Linked DNA regions of Homo sapiens: all the other regions are linked to region 4. Evidence: promoter capture Hi-C in 16 types of primary human blood cells and fetal thymus (Javierre and others, 2016). All regions are on one chromosome and are shown on one strand. Each heading gives the region's core, a stretch centred on a gene start or on the middle of the fragment in contact. The rest is flanking DNA. Distances are from core to core; before and after follow the strand shown. Region 1 overlaps MAPRE2 (microtubule associated protein RP/EB family member 2). Region 2 overlaps MAPRE2 (microtubule associated protein RP/EB family member 2). Region 3 has its middle 21 kb from the start of MAPRE2. Region 4 holds the start of ZNF397 (zinc finger protein 397). Region 5 has its middle 4.2 kb from the start of ZNF396.

Region 1 (2,764 bases), core at 16-2,515, 150 kb after region 4:
TCATTCTCTCCTGCAATGCAAAATTCTTCCTGCATATGTTATTCCTAAATCCTGCAAATATGCTCCAGTATCATTCAACTTTGACAAAATAAAACCAAAGTTTCTTGATCCCACATCATCCTTGAGCTATGTACTATCTCCTCCTCTTCACAGTAAAACTTCAAATGGTCTCTGTTTTCATTGTTTCATCTGACATCCAATTCAATTTAATACAAATTCAATTGTCTTCCAACCTCACCATGTTCTGGTCAAGGTCATCAAAAGCTTCTCTGCTATCAAATCAAACAGTTGTTTTTCTTTCTGCATCCTACTCAACCTCTTAATAGTATTTGGCCTTATTGACCACCTCTTTTGCTCTTGAAATTCTATATTTTCTTCTTTAATCAGATAAAAATAGATGTCAACAAACTGAAATATTCAGGAATCATTGCCAGTGTCCTGGAAGTCTTACCCAGCCACAAATCAGAATGTTCCTCATCAACAGATACACAGACTTTTGTGCCATTTAACTACCCTTGCAATAATGTGAGGTACATTTTGAATAAACACAATTTTATCTCATTATGCCACGGTTACCCTTATTCAGATCACATCCCTCTCCTGCTAAGAATATCACAGTGGTTTTCTATGAAACTATCATAAAATCCAAATTCCTTCCCTGGCTTAAAATACCCTGTTATCAGGCCTCTGTCTATTTCTCCCTTGTCTAACTTCCTTTTAGGAAGCTCCCTTCATGCTGGCTTCCTTGCTGTTCCTAGAACACTTCAGATTTGCTCCTGAATTAGGACCTTTACACAGTTTCATCTAGAACTTCACATGGTGACCTTCTTGACATTCAGATGAAAGCTTATATGTCATCTCCTCAGAGAGGTCCTCCCTTACTATGCCACATGAAGTAGCCTTCTAAGCACTCTTTTTCACCTCATCCTGTTTTATTAACTCTTATGTTGGCATTGTATTAACTCTTATGTTGGTGCTATGGTTTGGATATCCCCTCCAAAATGCATGTTGAAATTTATTTGCCATTGTGATGGTAATTAAGAGGTAGGACCACTAAGAGGTAAGCAGTCCATGAGGGTTCAGCCCTCCTGAAATGGATGAATGCCATTCTTGGGAAAGCAATTCGTTATAAAAGGGCAAATTTGGCTCTTGTTCTCTCCCCTATTGTCTCTTGCATTTCTGCCATGGAATGACGCAGCATGAAGACCTTTGCCAGATGCTGGTTCCCTGATCTTGGACTTCTTAGCCTCCAGAAGAGGAAGACAATAAATAACTGTTCATTATAAATTACCCAGTTTGAAGTATTCTGTTATAGCAGCATAAAACAGACTAAGAGAGTTTGTGGCTTATTTTTTCCCTCGCTGCAATATAAGTTTCAAGAATACTTGTGCCTTATTTGTCTTGGTCCCCTATGTATCTAAACATTTAATACAGTACCTGGCATAAGTGGGTTTCAATAAATATCTGGCTAATGAATGAAGATCTGCATAGCAGTTGAACCACAACAAGGGCTGGTAAACAGTAAAATTCTTATGTTGCCAAACTCCCCAAAGAGATATTATGAGAAGAGTTGCTAAAAATTCTTTTAAGAATTGACGAGGTATAAATAAAATTTTTTAAAGCCACTCAAATATAAGAATGACCCTAGAGACCAAGTCTGCAGAAAAGTAAAAGATAAGCTTTAAAAGCTAAGCATAGGGTAACACATTCAAGTAACACAACCCAAATTGTAGGATGCTGTGCCTACTAAGAGGTTAATTATGATGGGATATACTCTGAGCCCATAAGCTCAAGGTGCTGCTGCAATTGTGAAGGTCTACAAGATTCTGAAATGATCTGGAAATAAGTAGGGGGGAAAAAACTATTCTTTCTACACTGTCTGTACCCCTGCAGCCCTAAGATTGGTTTCAGTTGTTATACATCAAAATTGACATAATGAAGCTGACAAGTGTGAGGACAGGAATAAAAAATGAACAGCTGGGAGGCTGTATGAAGATGGCAGAGCTCAAAAATGAACATTCATACTCAAAGGATTCAGGAGTGTATGATTTAAGTCTATAAAATCATGAAAAGCCTAAGACAATTTCATTTTCACCAGATCCCAGGATTTCAACCATAGAGTAATATCAGAATAAATGGACATTTTTAAAGTGGAAATTTTCAGATAAAAGGAAATATTACTCTAATAACAAATTTATGGAATATATTACGCAAGAAACATAAGACATAAAAACACCCACATTTGGGTAAAATCTGTTAGCGTTTTCATATGTATTTTAAACATTCTGAATCCCATAGTATCCTTAAGAGGTAAGTATTTTTATTATCATTCCCATATTTTACAGGTATGGGAACAAGGCTCAGAAAGTCACCCAGCTAAGAAATTGCAGAGTGGAATTTAAACTCTGATCTGAACTTCAATTTTTTTTTTTTAAGAAAAACATTCCTTTTTTCTATGCTGCTTTTAGGAAATTATATGTAAAAATTGAAAGGTTCAAAGAGTGTTTGGAAATTTTTATAGATTAAGTTTTAGAAATTTTTATAGATTTTTATAGATAATTCTAAAAGGAAATATAAAGGAAAATGCAAGAGAACATATAAATCGTTTGGACTGGTGTTAGAAGTATCAGCTATACCTTTTCTATTTATAGTAGAATCTTGGGCTTGATAGATCATTAATCTGCTCCAATGTCATGACTTTCCATTTCAGTATATATACACTCATAAGAATTTCATTTTACATATATACAATGTGTATATAAAA
Region 2 (2,729 bases), core at 97-2,596, 170 kb after region 4:
GTCTCTGAAAAATAATTTTTAAAAAAAACAGAATATTATCACACCTAAAAATGAAAATAATTACTTATATCAAATATGCATTTCAATATATTATAATACAAATTTAACTTCAGATTGCTTGAATCTGGATTCATATAAGGTTCATACATTATGATTCTTTGATACATTCTTTAAATTTCTTTATAAAGTTTCTTCTCTATTTCTAATCTTTCCTTGCAATTAAAAAAAAAGTTGTTGTTGAAGGAACTAGGTTGTCTGATAGTTTCCACATTCTGGATTTTTCTCATTGTATCACACTGCTGTGGTTTAACATGTTCCGCTGTCCTCTGCATCCCTACAGACTGATAATTCCATCTAGAGCCTTGATCTTATTCAAGTTCTAATGGGACGGGGATTTGATGCCATCTAGCACAACTCTGGGCTTTGACACCTAATCCTCCATCAATACACTGCCTGGTAATGCAAAAGCTTTCCATTACTGCCTGAAGAAGAAACCAATAGAACAGCCCATCAGCTGCCAAAGGTTATGCCAGTATATGACAATTGCATCAAACAGACTATTTCACGCCGTGTTTGAACTTCCATCAGAAGGCAGATAACTATTACCTCTGACTGCCTGCTTCCATGATATTGTTAGCTCTGATATTTGCCTAGATCCAATAATTCACTAAAACTTCAAATATTCTATTATTCATTCTTGATTTATTAGCTGGAATAATTCTACAAAGAGAAGTTTCCCCCTGAGGTACCCTGAGATACAGGTCATCGAGGAAAGGCAGGAGAGGTGCCTAACTCTTTTTCTCTATTTGCCAGTTTTCAAAGTGATGAGTAGTTCCCTAATATTCTCCAAACATGACCAATGAAGTTTTTGTTCTTATATTTTGAAGTATAATTATGAATCCATGGACTTAAACATATTTGATATGTTTCAATCCATTGAAATTATACCTTTATTGATAAAAGCTTGCAAGAGCTTATTCAAGCTAGCCTCTAAGTTCTTTTGACACAGTCTTAGTGGTCTTTGATAACCTTCTTCTTTTCCAATATGACGAGATGTTCCAAGGCCAACTTGTATATTTCTTGCCTCAGACCTAAAACCAGTAATTTCTCCAAGCGCTCCTGATTCCTTTTAGTGAAAAATGGTATTTACAGATATAGAAGTAATATTTTTAAACATGACTAGATATAATAGCAAAATCTATAGTATATAGGTTTTAGACAAAAATCTACATTTTATGAAATAGTTGTGTTTGGAGTTCCTATTTATGCTCATGAAAGCAATAAAAATCTGTTTTCTACTTTAAAGTGCTAAATGAAGGTTTCATTTAGAAATAAATGTAAAAATAAATATCTATCACTCCATTCCCAGAAGCACCCTTATCTCTAAATTGTCTTCTCGTAAGGATCTGAAAAATCTCACAGCATAGGAATCTCAGATAGTGTGACCATAATTACTGCTTTGTACACCATTATTGAAGGTTTTTTACTTTTTGGTTAATAACTTCCACTGTTTTCTTTAGTCTATCATTTATTAAACGAAACCATTTGCTTTTTAAATGTAGTCAATTTTTAAAATCATCTATGTAAATTATGTATAATCTTAGTAAGGGTAAATAATTCAAAATTTAAAATATTTTGGACTGATGAAATGATCATATACTGGCATAACTTTTGGCAGCTGATGGGCTTTTCTAGCGGTTTCTTCTTCAGGCAGTAATGGAAAGCTTCTGCATTACCGGGCAATGTACTGATGGAGGATGTGGTGTCGAGGCCCAGGGTTATGCTAGATGGCACCAAACCAAATTGAGATGAAATTTTTAATCAAGATGATTTAAAAAAAATCTAAATGCAAAGCAGAAAAGACACAAACAGATCTGTGTTTTAGAAAAATAACCCATACACAAGTGAGTAAAAACGTTCTGTGGTTACATAAGAGAAATTAATATACAACAGAAGTACAGGTAGAAGAGTAATGACAGCTTTTTAAAAATCCATATAAACAAGGAAGCAGGTCATTTGCTGCAGTTTGTCAATAAATCACACTTTCCTCCAGGTCTTTGCTGATAACATTCACTTAAGGACAACAATTGTCCTTTCATAATGTAAACAGACATTCAGCTCACAAAGGTAAGTCAAGGCACTATCTGCCTTCAAGCAGTTCATTAAGATGATCAGGTAAACAATGAAAACAGCACCAGATCTGGGCTTTAGAAAAATTCTGGGTACTTAGTTACCAGGCATACCACTCAAATCTCCACCATTGCTAGCCAACACAGCTGTAGTCCTCACAAGCCCTGTGGCAGGGGCTACCATGTGTTAAGGGACCTGTGGGATAACTAGTTTAGAAGACAGATTAAGAATAAGTGAACCAATGAAGGCAAGAAATTTTTCACCATTTCCTAAAATAAAATAACAACACATTAAATGAGTAGACTTCAATACCTACTTCAAATTAATAACAATGAAATCAATATAGTTAATTTCTATTTAACACCCCTGCTGATGGGAATATTCTTATAATCGATCTTCCTCTTTCCAAATTTCAGCAAGGTACTTCTAAGCGCACTTCACTCTGTGGCTGTCTTTGCTCCCAATGTTTGCCCCGAACCCAAACAAGCCAGCTTTTCCGATTTTAGGCCTGAGAGTTCTGAGTCTGGACTCACTTTCCCTGGAAGGGGAACTGTCCTGAACCTCCCGCAAGTGAAGTGTCAGCCAAAGTGGAAAAAGGA
Region 3 (2,732 bases), core at 32-2,531, 220 kb after region 4:
ACAGAGACGTAAAGTTTTCAAACCTTTTCATGTTAGAAGTTATCTATTTGTTTTTATATTTTATTGATAGTTGAAATGTCCAAAATCACTTCCCTCAGAACTTTGAAAGCATGGTTCCACTGCTTCTGAGGCTTCAGAATTGCATATTGATGTCTATAACATTCAGGTGATCACTCTTCTGTATGTAATCACTCTTCTCTCTGACCCTCAAGCTCTAACATCTCTTTTATTCTGAAATTTCATGAGGGTGGACCTAGGTTTGGGTTTTTTAAATTCATCGTGGTCAACATTCAGTAGCCTCTTTTAATCTGAATCTTTATGCCTTTATTTCTTTGTCTTCAATGTCTTCTTGAAACTCTTCATAAAGAATGCCAGGCCATTTAGATCATTCTTCTATTTCTCTAATACTTTTCTAGTATTTTCTGTCTTTTCATCTTTTGCTTTATACCCTGTGATACTCTCAGCCACACTAAGTCCAATTGATTTTTGATTTAATTATATTTTTAATTCGCCAAAGCTCTTGCACTTTCTGATTACCTCTTATTCATAGCAACTCTTTTTTTCTGGGAGGAGTGGGGCCGTGAAGTTTAAGGGATGCAATACTTTTTGTCTGTTTAAGGATATTTATTAAACGTTTTCTTCTATTCTCTGAATTACTTCATCTAAATTAGCTATTTTATTTCTTTTTCAATTTTTGCTCTTATTTAGCTGGCAATATAATCCTATGCCCTTTCCATCTTCCAGAACTTTGTCCATTTCTGGTCCCCATTCATGTTTCTGTAAGTGTCATGGATTTGCTCTCCTTTTTAAATTTTGTTATTTCAGTTGAAGAGCTGGGAAGATGGGAGCAAAACTGTATTTAGACTGTCATCTTAAAACTCACGAATTTTTCTAGAATATACTTGCATCATGTTCAACATTTCCCTCATTGTCTAAAATATAAAGCTTAAGTAATGGTCTGGTATTTGGGACTCTGCACAGTTTGACCCTAGCTTATCTTTCTTCCTTAATCCTCCATTATTCACACTAAAGTACCAGGTTCTCTCTGCCCCCTTGAGATGGCCTACATTTCATTTCTCGCCTGGAATGTCCTTTTTCCTTTCATCTACCATTTTACACAGGCAGGCTCGGCTCAAAGACCACATCTTCTGAAGTCTTTTTGAACATTCCAGGATACCCCTAATTCTGTATCAGTTAAAAATATGTATTGAGTTCCATCCAGACAAATAATTCTGTTTCTTGTGCCAGCAATGGCAATTTTTCCAACCAGAATTTTCTTCTCTGCCATTTTTAGTATATAATCTAAAATCATTTTACCTAAATGAAAATTTAAAAGCAAATGCTTCATGTTTTTATGTCTCACTATACAACGAAAATATCAAATTTATGGACACAGCTTTTTAAATAAAGTAATGTTCTCGAGCCAGGAAATTTTTATTTTATAATTGAGGGGATACGTTTTCTTGAGTAGGAGGCAAGAGTGGTTAGATAGTCTTATTCGAAGACACCTTTACAGAAATAGGTTGCTTCTGGTCAGAGGCAATAATATCAGTATACAAATGTTCTAAGCACTCACTGCACATTTTTTTTTTTTTTGACAAGCCAAGGAAAGCTTTTCTCTAAGCTAAGCACTCACTAAAAGAGGGTGCAAATGGTTCAGGCCAGCTTATAAACCGAAGTAATGTTGCATGAATGGCATTACCTGACACAGGTTTGAACATGGCACTCACCAAGGGCGAAAATAAAGTTAAAGAATTCCATGAGAGAAACTACCAACCAAATATAAAGCATAGTCATTGCCTTGAAAAATCATAACAGAATAACACATCAGCATCCAAAGTAGGATTTAGAGTCCAGCTGGAGAATAAAATATCCTCATGGCCTAGAATCGAGTTCTTTAGGGAGGCACTCTGGGGCTTATCTTGACCTGTATTATTCATTTTTCCTTCTGTAGTTTGATGTTATCCTGATAATCTGTGATTCATCTGAATTGCTTTCTTGAAGACTGAAGCACAGCTAATTTTAGAACAGAGACAAACACATCATGCACACATTTTAAGCAGAATGATATTTGAGGTAAGGGGTGCTGAAAATCTGTGTCATCCACAGTACAAGTAGCCAGGCAACCTGAGGCCGAGCTGATTTTACAGAACTCAGAAGTATGTATTAAGTATCTAATGTCTGGGGAGATAAGTAAACTAGAATGCCTCATCCATTGTTCTTAAGAATATTATTATTTGGAAAGCAAAAATTATACATGTGAAAAAGGTTTTAAAAATCTGAGGTAATATCCAATCAGGAATTCCACGCTGTAATAGAAAACATGTTATATTCACAGGGATATGGGGACACATAGGTATGAGATTGCCACTCAGAGTATTATTTAACCAGTTATGATCTATAAGTTTCAGGCACACCAAAGTTAACTTTGAAACAGACTCCATATGGCAAACAATGGCAAGTTGGATAAATAATGGTCAACTCTACAGACTATTTGACACACATTAAAACATGTCTACAATCATGAATATGTACTGTAGCATGGAAAACTGCTTATGACATAAAGTAAAGAAGAAGAAAATAAAATATGACAAGGCCTGGTTACAACTGTATAAAACTAGCCACATGATAATAGTGGGGGACTTTAACATCCCACTGACAGCATTAGATAGATCATTGAGGCAGAAAACTGACAAATTCCGGACTCAAATTCAACACTTGGACCTAATAGA
Region 4 (2,891 bases), core at 345-2,844:
ATTGCTGACGAAACAATTCTTGGCAGGATTGAGTACTCCCATTCTGCTTAAATTTCTCATCCCAGGAAAAGTTATCTTCTACTTTCACTAGTATTAGTTCTTGTTCCGGAGGATCCTGAGGTATCAGGGTTGAAATCACTCCAGATTCCACAGCCATTCTTGGCTGAAACAGCTTAGCAAAAAGCTCAGTACAACTGGTTCTGTGCTTGCGAAGGAGTGTGAGTAATCTCTTCTTTCCTGAAGGATATAAAAGCAGTTAACTTACAGCAATCAATAAAATCTCTAAGTACTTGTAATAAGAAAGATGAGTAACTTTAGTAATATATTGAAAGGGAGTAGATTTGGGGCTATCACTAAATAAAACAATAATGTGATGATAAACTAAAAATCATTAACCTCAATTAGTGTCTCCCATTATGAAGAATTCCTACCACTAATGTTAGAAAAAACTATTTTAGAAGCCTAAGAATGTGAATGCAACATTAACATCAATCACATAGTGAGAAAATTTCCTTTCCAATTCTTTCAATTCTGATTGTATCAAGGAGAAAAGTCTATCTTTAACATGTATGTATTAATAAAACTTGTAGAACTCTCTTTTAAATAAAATACAGGCTTCAGAATCAGACTTCCAAGAGTAAAAATATTTAGGCAGAATTTAGTAATACTGATTTTAAACATTTATTTTTACTTACTTTCTATCTAAAGCAAGTAATGTTGATTTTCATTTAAGGCAGTAATAACGTTTTTTTAAAAGTTCACATTAAACATGAGTTGATGTAAATATTGGATATTTGTCATTTGATCGCATTTGGTGTTTACCGAATTACTTCAACAAACACTGAGGCACTTACTGAGCATTAAGATTTTTGCTTATGAATAAACGAGTCTACAGAGGAATTGACCAAGAACCAAGACGTATCTGTAAAATGCTTACCATGTGTTCAAAAACATGATAGGTATCACATACACAAAAGCAGCAAAGAGATCCGTATCAGTTCTGAAAAAGCTTAGAATATCCCAAGACTAAAAATGTTCAAAAGCAAAATATGGTAACAAATAGGTATTAAATGTTGTGACACAGACCAAACTTGACCTGCTTTTAGGATGGCGAGATATCGATAGGAATGTATGCCCTTAGTTTGTCAGGACAGATGAGTAAAATTCATTCCTCACACTACGGTTAACGTTAAGAGATGAATTAAAATATTTAGCCTACAAATTTAAGGTTTAACCAGTCCGGCCGCACTAACTAACTAACTAACTAGCCCTTCTATTTTTATATCCTTGGTTAAACCGCAGCATTTACGAAGTCACGGGGTCAGCGGAACTGCGTTTTCCTTTGGAAAGCAGGAGTTTGAGTGCTGGCCTCCTCTGAGTTCCCCAGTCGCTTGGAGACGCCGCGCGGGCCAAAGGGCCGCGACCTGGGGATGGGCAGGCCGAGGAGCGGAGCTCCTCCACTGTCCGGCGCGCGCTCCCAACCCCACCTCCCTCTTCCTAGGGGCCCACGTCCCTCACCGCGAAGCCCAGGAGCGGCCAGGAAATGAGCCACCCACCCCGAGCTGCAAGCCACAAAGACCGGAAGTGCGCGTACGCAGTGTTCCGCTCTCGCGCCCTTCGGGTCCTCCGCCGCCCCGCCCCTTGCTCTGAGGTAGCCAATCAGAGCCGCGGGCTCTACAGTTTCCACCGCCTTCTCCCGGTAGCCGCTAGCCCGGCGGAATCTCCAAGGCCAGGGGAGGGTGCGCTAGGAGTCAGGGGTCCTTGTGAGCGGCGGCACCTGGAGGGTCCCGCATCTCGCCTGGGCCGTTCCCACCCTGGCTTTCTCCTGGCACCACCCATCATTGTTGGTCTCAAGTAATTCCCGAATCTCACTCCCAGTTTTCCATTAAAATATTCAGATTTTCGGCCGGGCGCGGTGGCCGAGGCGGGCGGATCACGAGGTCAGGAGATAGAGACCATCCTGGCTAACACGGTGAAACCCCGTCTCTACTAAAAATACAAAAATTTAGCTGGGCATGTTGGCGGGCGCCTGTAGTTCCAGCTACTCGGGAGGCTGAGGCAGGAGAATGGCGTGAACCCGGGAGGCGGAGCTTGCAGTGAACTGAGATGTGCTGCACTCCAGCCTGGGCGACAGAGCGAGACTCTGTCTCAAAAAAAAAAAAAAAAAAAAAACCTCAGATTTTCCTGTGATTCCAGTTCTTTTCCGACAAAAGTAAATGTAAGGATGAATAGGCTGAACAAAAACTAACAGTCACTTATATTGCTTTTGCCTATGAGTATCACTGGAGCCTTACAACAGTTCTGTGCTGTGGCTATATAATCCCAAATTTACAGCCGTAGACATCGCCCAAAGTCAGGCAACTTGTGACCAGGGACGTCCACGTCCCCATAGTTCAAGGAGACTGGTATCGTAGACTCCTGGAGCCTATCTTAGGGTCTTCCCGTTCTTCAGTGGAAGCTTGCTGGTATTGTCTCACTGTTTAAATTTTTCTTTGGCTATTTAGTCGGTGAAAAATGATGCCTCATGTTTCAACTTTGTGAGCTTAAGATAGTCCCCCTTCATGTTTACTGACCATTTATGGTTCTTCAGAGATGGCTTTTCCCATTTAAAAAATTAAGGGAGTAAGATTTTTCTTTTTTATTTGTGAGAATTTTTTGCTTATTAAGGATAGCAACTCGTTTGTTGCAAATCGTTTCCCATTTATTTGTATTTATTTTTAAAACGTTACATTTTACATGTTTAAATGTTACATATTTTTAAAATGTTATATTAAAAAAGTACACAGGATAATAACAAAGCGATACATACATACATAGAAACAAATTCTCCTTTGTGAGCCAAGACTTAAAACACATATTTGAGAAAAATGTTCGTTAGCATTCAAAGCTAT
Region 5 (2,719 bases), core at 13-2,512, 140 kb before region 4:
GAACCACTAGCCACATGAGGCTAGTGAGCATTTGAACTGTGGCAAGTGTGACTGAGGAATTGAATTTCTAATTTTAATTAATTAAAATTTAAATGTAATTAGCCACAGGTGTCTAGTGGTTACCACGTTGGGTACACAAAGAGCCACAGATCATGGGTTAAAATTCCTCTCAAATGCTTGTCTTCTCAAAGATTTTTTTTCTTTGAGACAATTCTTTATTTAGCAAATATGGAGACTCTCCCCATTGGCTGCTGTGGTGGGTTAAAAAATGGTCTCAAACGATATCAGGTCCTAATTCCTGGAACATTTACAAATGTTTACATCACATTTACCAATGTTACCTTATTTGGAAAAAGAGACTTTGCAGATGTGTTTAAATTAAGGGTCTTGAGATGGATAGATTATTCTGGATTATCTGGGTGGGACCTAAATGCAACCACATGCATCCTTATGAAAAGGACGTAGAGGGAGATTTGAAGATGTTGGCCTTGAAGATTGGAGTGATGCAGCCAGAAGCCAAGGAATGCTGACAGCCAAAAAATGCTGGAGGAAGAAAGGAATGAATTCTCCTCTAGAGCCTCCAGAAGGAGGACTGCCCTGCATGCTGTCACTTTAAGCCCAGTGAAATGGGTTTCTGACTTCTGGCCTTTAGAACTGTGAGGAAATATATTTCTGTTGTTTTAAGCCACCAGATTTGTGATAATTTGTTGCAGTGTCCACAGGAAGCTAATACAAGTGCCCACTGAAATCACCTGGGGAGCTTTAGCTACATTATTTCATTTAATCTTCAGATTATTATGATCCCAATTTTATAATCAGGAAATAAGGATTAGAGAATTTTAGGACTTAACCCACAGTAGCTTGCGGCAGAGTTGGGGAGTGAACCCAGGTTTGTCTGTTGACTTTGAGACCACATTGGATTTCATAAACAAGGGAAAGAAAAATGTGTAAGATGACTCCTAAGACTTACTGCCTGGAACATAGAGCTAACAGCAGTTTCACTATCAAAGCAAGGAATTTGGCCTATTGAGGGTGATGGAGAGAGAAGATGAACTCAGTTTGGGATACTTCCTGATATGGTTTGGCTTTGTGTCCCCACCCAAATCTCATTTTGTAGCTCCCATAATCCCCATGTGTTGTGGGAGGGACCCGGTGGGAGATGACTGAAGCATGGGGGCGGGTCTTTCCCCATGCTGTTCTCATGATAGTGAATGGGTCTCATTAGATCTGATGGTTTTAAAAACAGGAGTTACTCTGCACAAGCTCTCTTTTCTCTTGCCTGCTGCCATCCACGTAAGATATGACTTGCTCCTCTTTGCCTTCTGCCACGATTGTGAGGCCTCCCCAGCCATGTGGAACTGTAAGTCCAACTAAACCTCTTTCTTTTGTAAATTGCCAGTCTCAGGTATGTCTTTATCAGCGGCGTGAAAACAGACTAATACACTTCCTTAATTGTTTTCCCAACTTGATACTTTATTCACGTCTTCCACTAAGGGAGAGAGAGCTCCCCTAGTTCCCTCACACAAACTCTCATATCTGTTCACTGTGTGAAAAAGAGTCATTCGAAATCTAAGCTGCTAGAACTCTAAATTATTTTAGGACTTGGAAGAATGTTATTACTGATCCTGAGTCACATGGTAGGCACCTATAAACTAGGGAGCTATAACCTTCTGTTTCTCTGATTACAGATGAAGCCTTTTCCCTTACCTGCATTGTTTTGTAAAATGTTATATATGGCCAAAGGGAAGAGGAAGACCCCTTCCCTCTCCACTGTTGGCCTTTATTATAGATTCACCTTTCTCTTACCTTTCTCACACACAGACTTCTTGACTATCACATTGACTTAAGATAGAATGTTAAATACACTCTTTTAAATTGGAAACCAAATGAAAACCAACTATAAAGAAAACAAGCTATATGGAAAAGAAAACAAACTAACTAATTAATTTGTTGAAACTATTAAGCCAGCCTTGTATAGAAAATGTTGCAATCCTGATAAATTTCTTTGTCTTCTTCCTATATTAGCAAGATTTAACTTTTAACTTTGGAGCACTGATCCCATTTCTCTGGAGTCTGTGTGTCCTGGAATGGCTATTCCCAGCTTTTTGTTTGAATAAACTCTTTAAAACTGGATTCTGACCCTTTTATTATTTCAGGTTGACAAGTGTGTACCCACACTTGGACTCCTACACATACAACCCATCCACCACTTGCTTGGAAACCATAGTTCCATTGTAGGCAAATTGCTTTTTATTGCTCAATCTAAATTTCTTTTTTTTTTAATTTTAAAGTTTTTATTTTTGTTAATTTTTTATTTCAGTTTTGGGGTACATGTGGAGGCTTGTTATACAGATTAACTGAATGGGGGTTTGGTGTACATATTATCTCATCACCCAGGTAATAGGCATAGTGGGTAGTTTTTGAACCCCGACCCCCCACTCAAGTAGGCCCTAATGTCTATTATTCCCCTCTTTGTGTCCATGTGTACTCAATGTTTAGCTCTCACTTATAAGTGAGAACATGCAGTGTTTATAAACCTAAGTTTCTTTTTTTTTGAGACAGGGTCTCATTCTGTTGCCCGAGTTGGAGTGCAGTGGAATGATCATGGCTCACTGCAGCCTTGACTTCCTGGGCTCAAGTGATTCTCCCATCTCAGCCTCCCAAGAAGCTGAGACCAAAGGTGCATGCCACTATGCCCAGCTAATTTTTGGTATTTTTT

What was found. Contacts are between HindIII fragments. The CHiCAGO score rates a contact against its expected background, and 5 or more counts as called.
Region 1: a fragment that was not itself captured here is called in contact with the fragment with the promoter of ZNF397 in region 4 in 2 of 17 cell types (activated CD4 T cells and total CD8 T cells); the score reaches 6.2 in activated CD4 T cells.
Region 2: a fragment that was not itself captured here is called in contact with the fragment with the promoter of ZNF397 in region 4 in 4 of 17 cell types (total CD8 T cells, naive CD4 T cells, naive B cells and 1 more); the score reaches 6.1 in total CD8 T cells.
Region 3: a fragment that was not itself captured here is called in contact with the fragment with the promoter of ZNF397 in region 4 in 11 of 17 cell types (fetal thymus, activated CD4 T cells, total CD8 T cells and 8 more); the score reaches 16.8 in fetal thymus.
Region 5: a fragment that was not itself captured here is called in contact with the fragment with the promoter of ZNF397 in region 4 in 13 of 17 cell types (total CD8 T cells, neutrophils, naive CD4 T cells and 10 more); the score reaches 13.3 in total CD8 T cells.

What each region holds. Positions count from the first base shown.
Region 1 is chr18:35,086,352-35,089,115 of GRCh38, reverse strand. All of the region lies in intron 2 of MAPRE2 (microtubule associated protein RP/EB family member 2), which reads right to left. Among named protein-coding and RNA genes, the nearest start is that of MAPRE2, 46 kb to the right of the region's middle. The HindIII fragment of the contact is 833 bases long and covers 849-1,681 here.
Region 2 is chr18:35,066,681-35,069,409 of GRCh38, reverse strand. All of the region lies in intron 1 of MAPRE2 (microtubule associated protein RP/EB family member 2), which reads right to left. Among named protein-coding and RNA genes, the nearest start is that of MAPRE2, 27 kb to the right of the region's middle. The HindIII fragment of the contact is 761 bases long and covers 966-1,726 here.
Region 3 is chr18:35,019,416-35,022,147 of GRCh38, reverse strand. It overlaps a transcript of MAPRE2 not described here. Among named protein-coding and RNA genes, the nearest start is that of MAPRE2, 21 kb to the left of the region's middle. The HindIII fragment of the contact is 667 bases long and covers 948-1,614 here.
Region 4 is chr18:35,239,737-35,242,627 of GRCh38, reverse strand. It overlaps ZNF397 (zinc finger protein 397), which reads right to left and starts at 1,594. Exons shown (of 4, transcript NM_001135178.3): 1 at 1,519-1,594; 2 at 1-237. The coding sequence starts at 157. RefSeq lists a silencer at 1,413-1,542 and enhancers at 1,332-1,857, 1,803-1,912. The HindIII fragment of the contact is 1,449 bases long and covers 1,012-2,460 here.
Region 5 is chr18:35,380,214-35,382,932 of GRCh38, reverse strand. No RefSeq gene overlaps it. Among named protein-coding and RNA genes, the nearest start is that of ZNF396, 4.2 kb to the right of the region's middle. The HindIII fragment of the contact is 3,438 bases long and covers 1-2,719 here.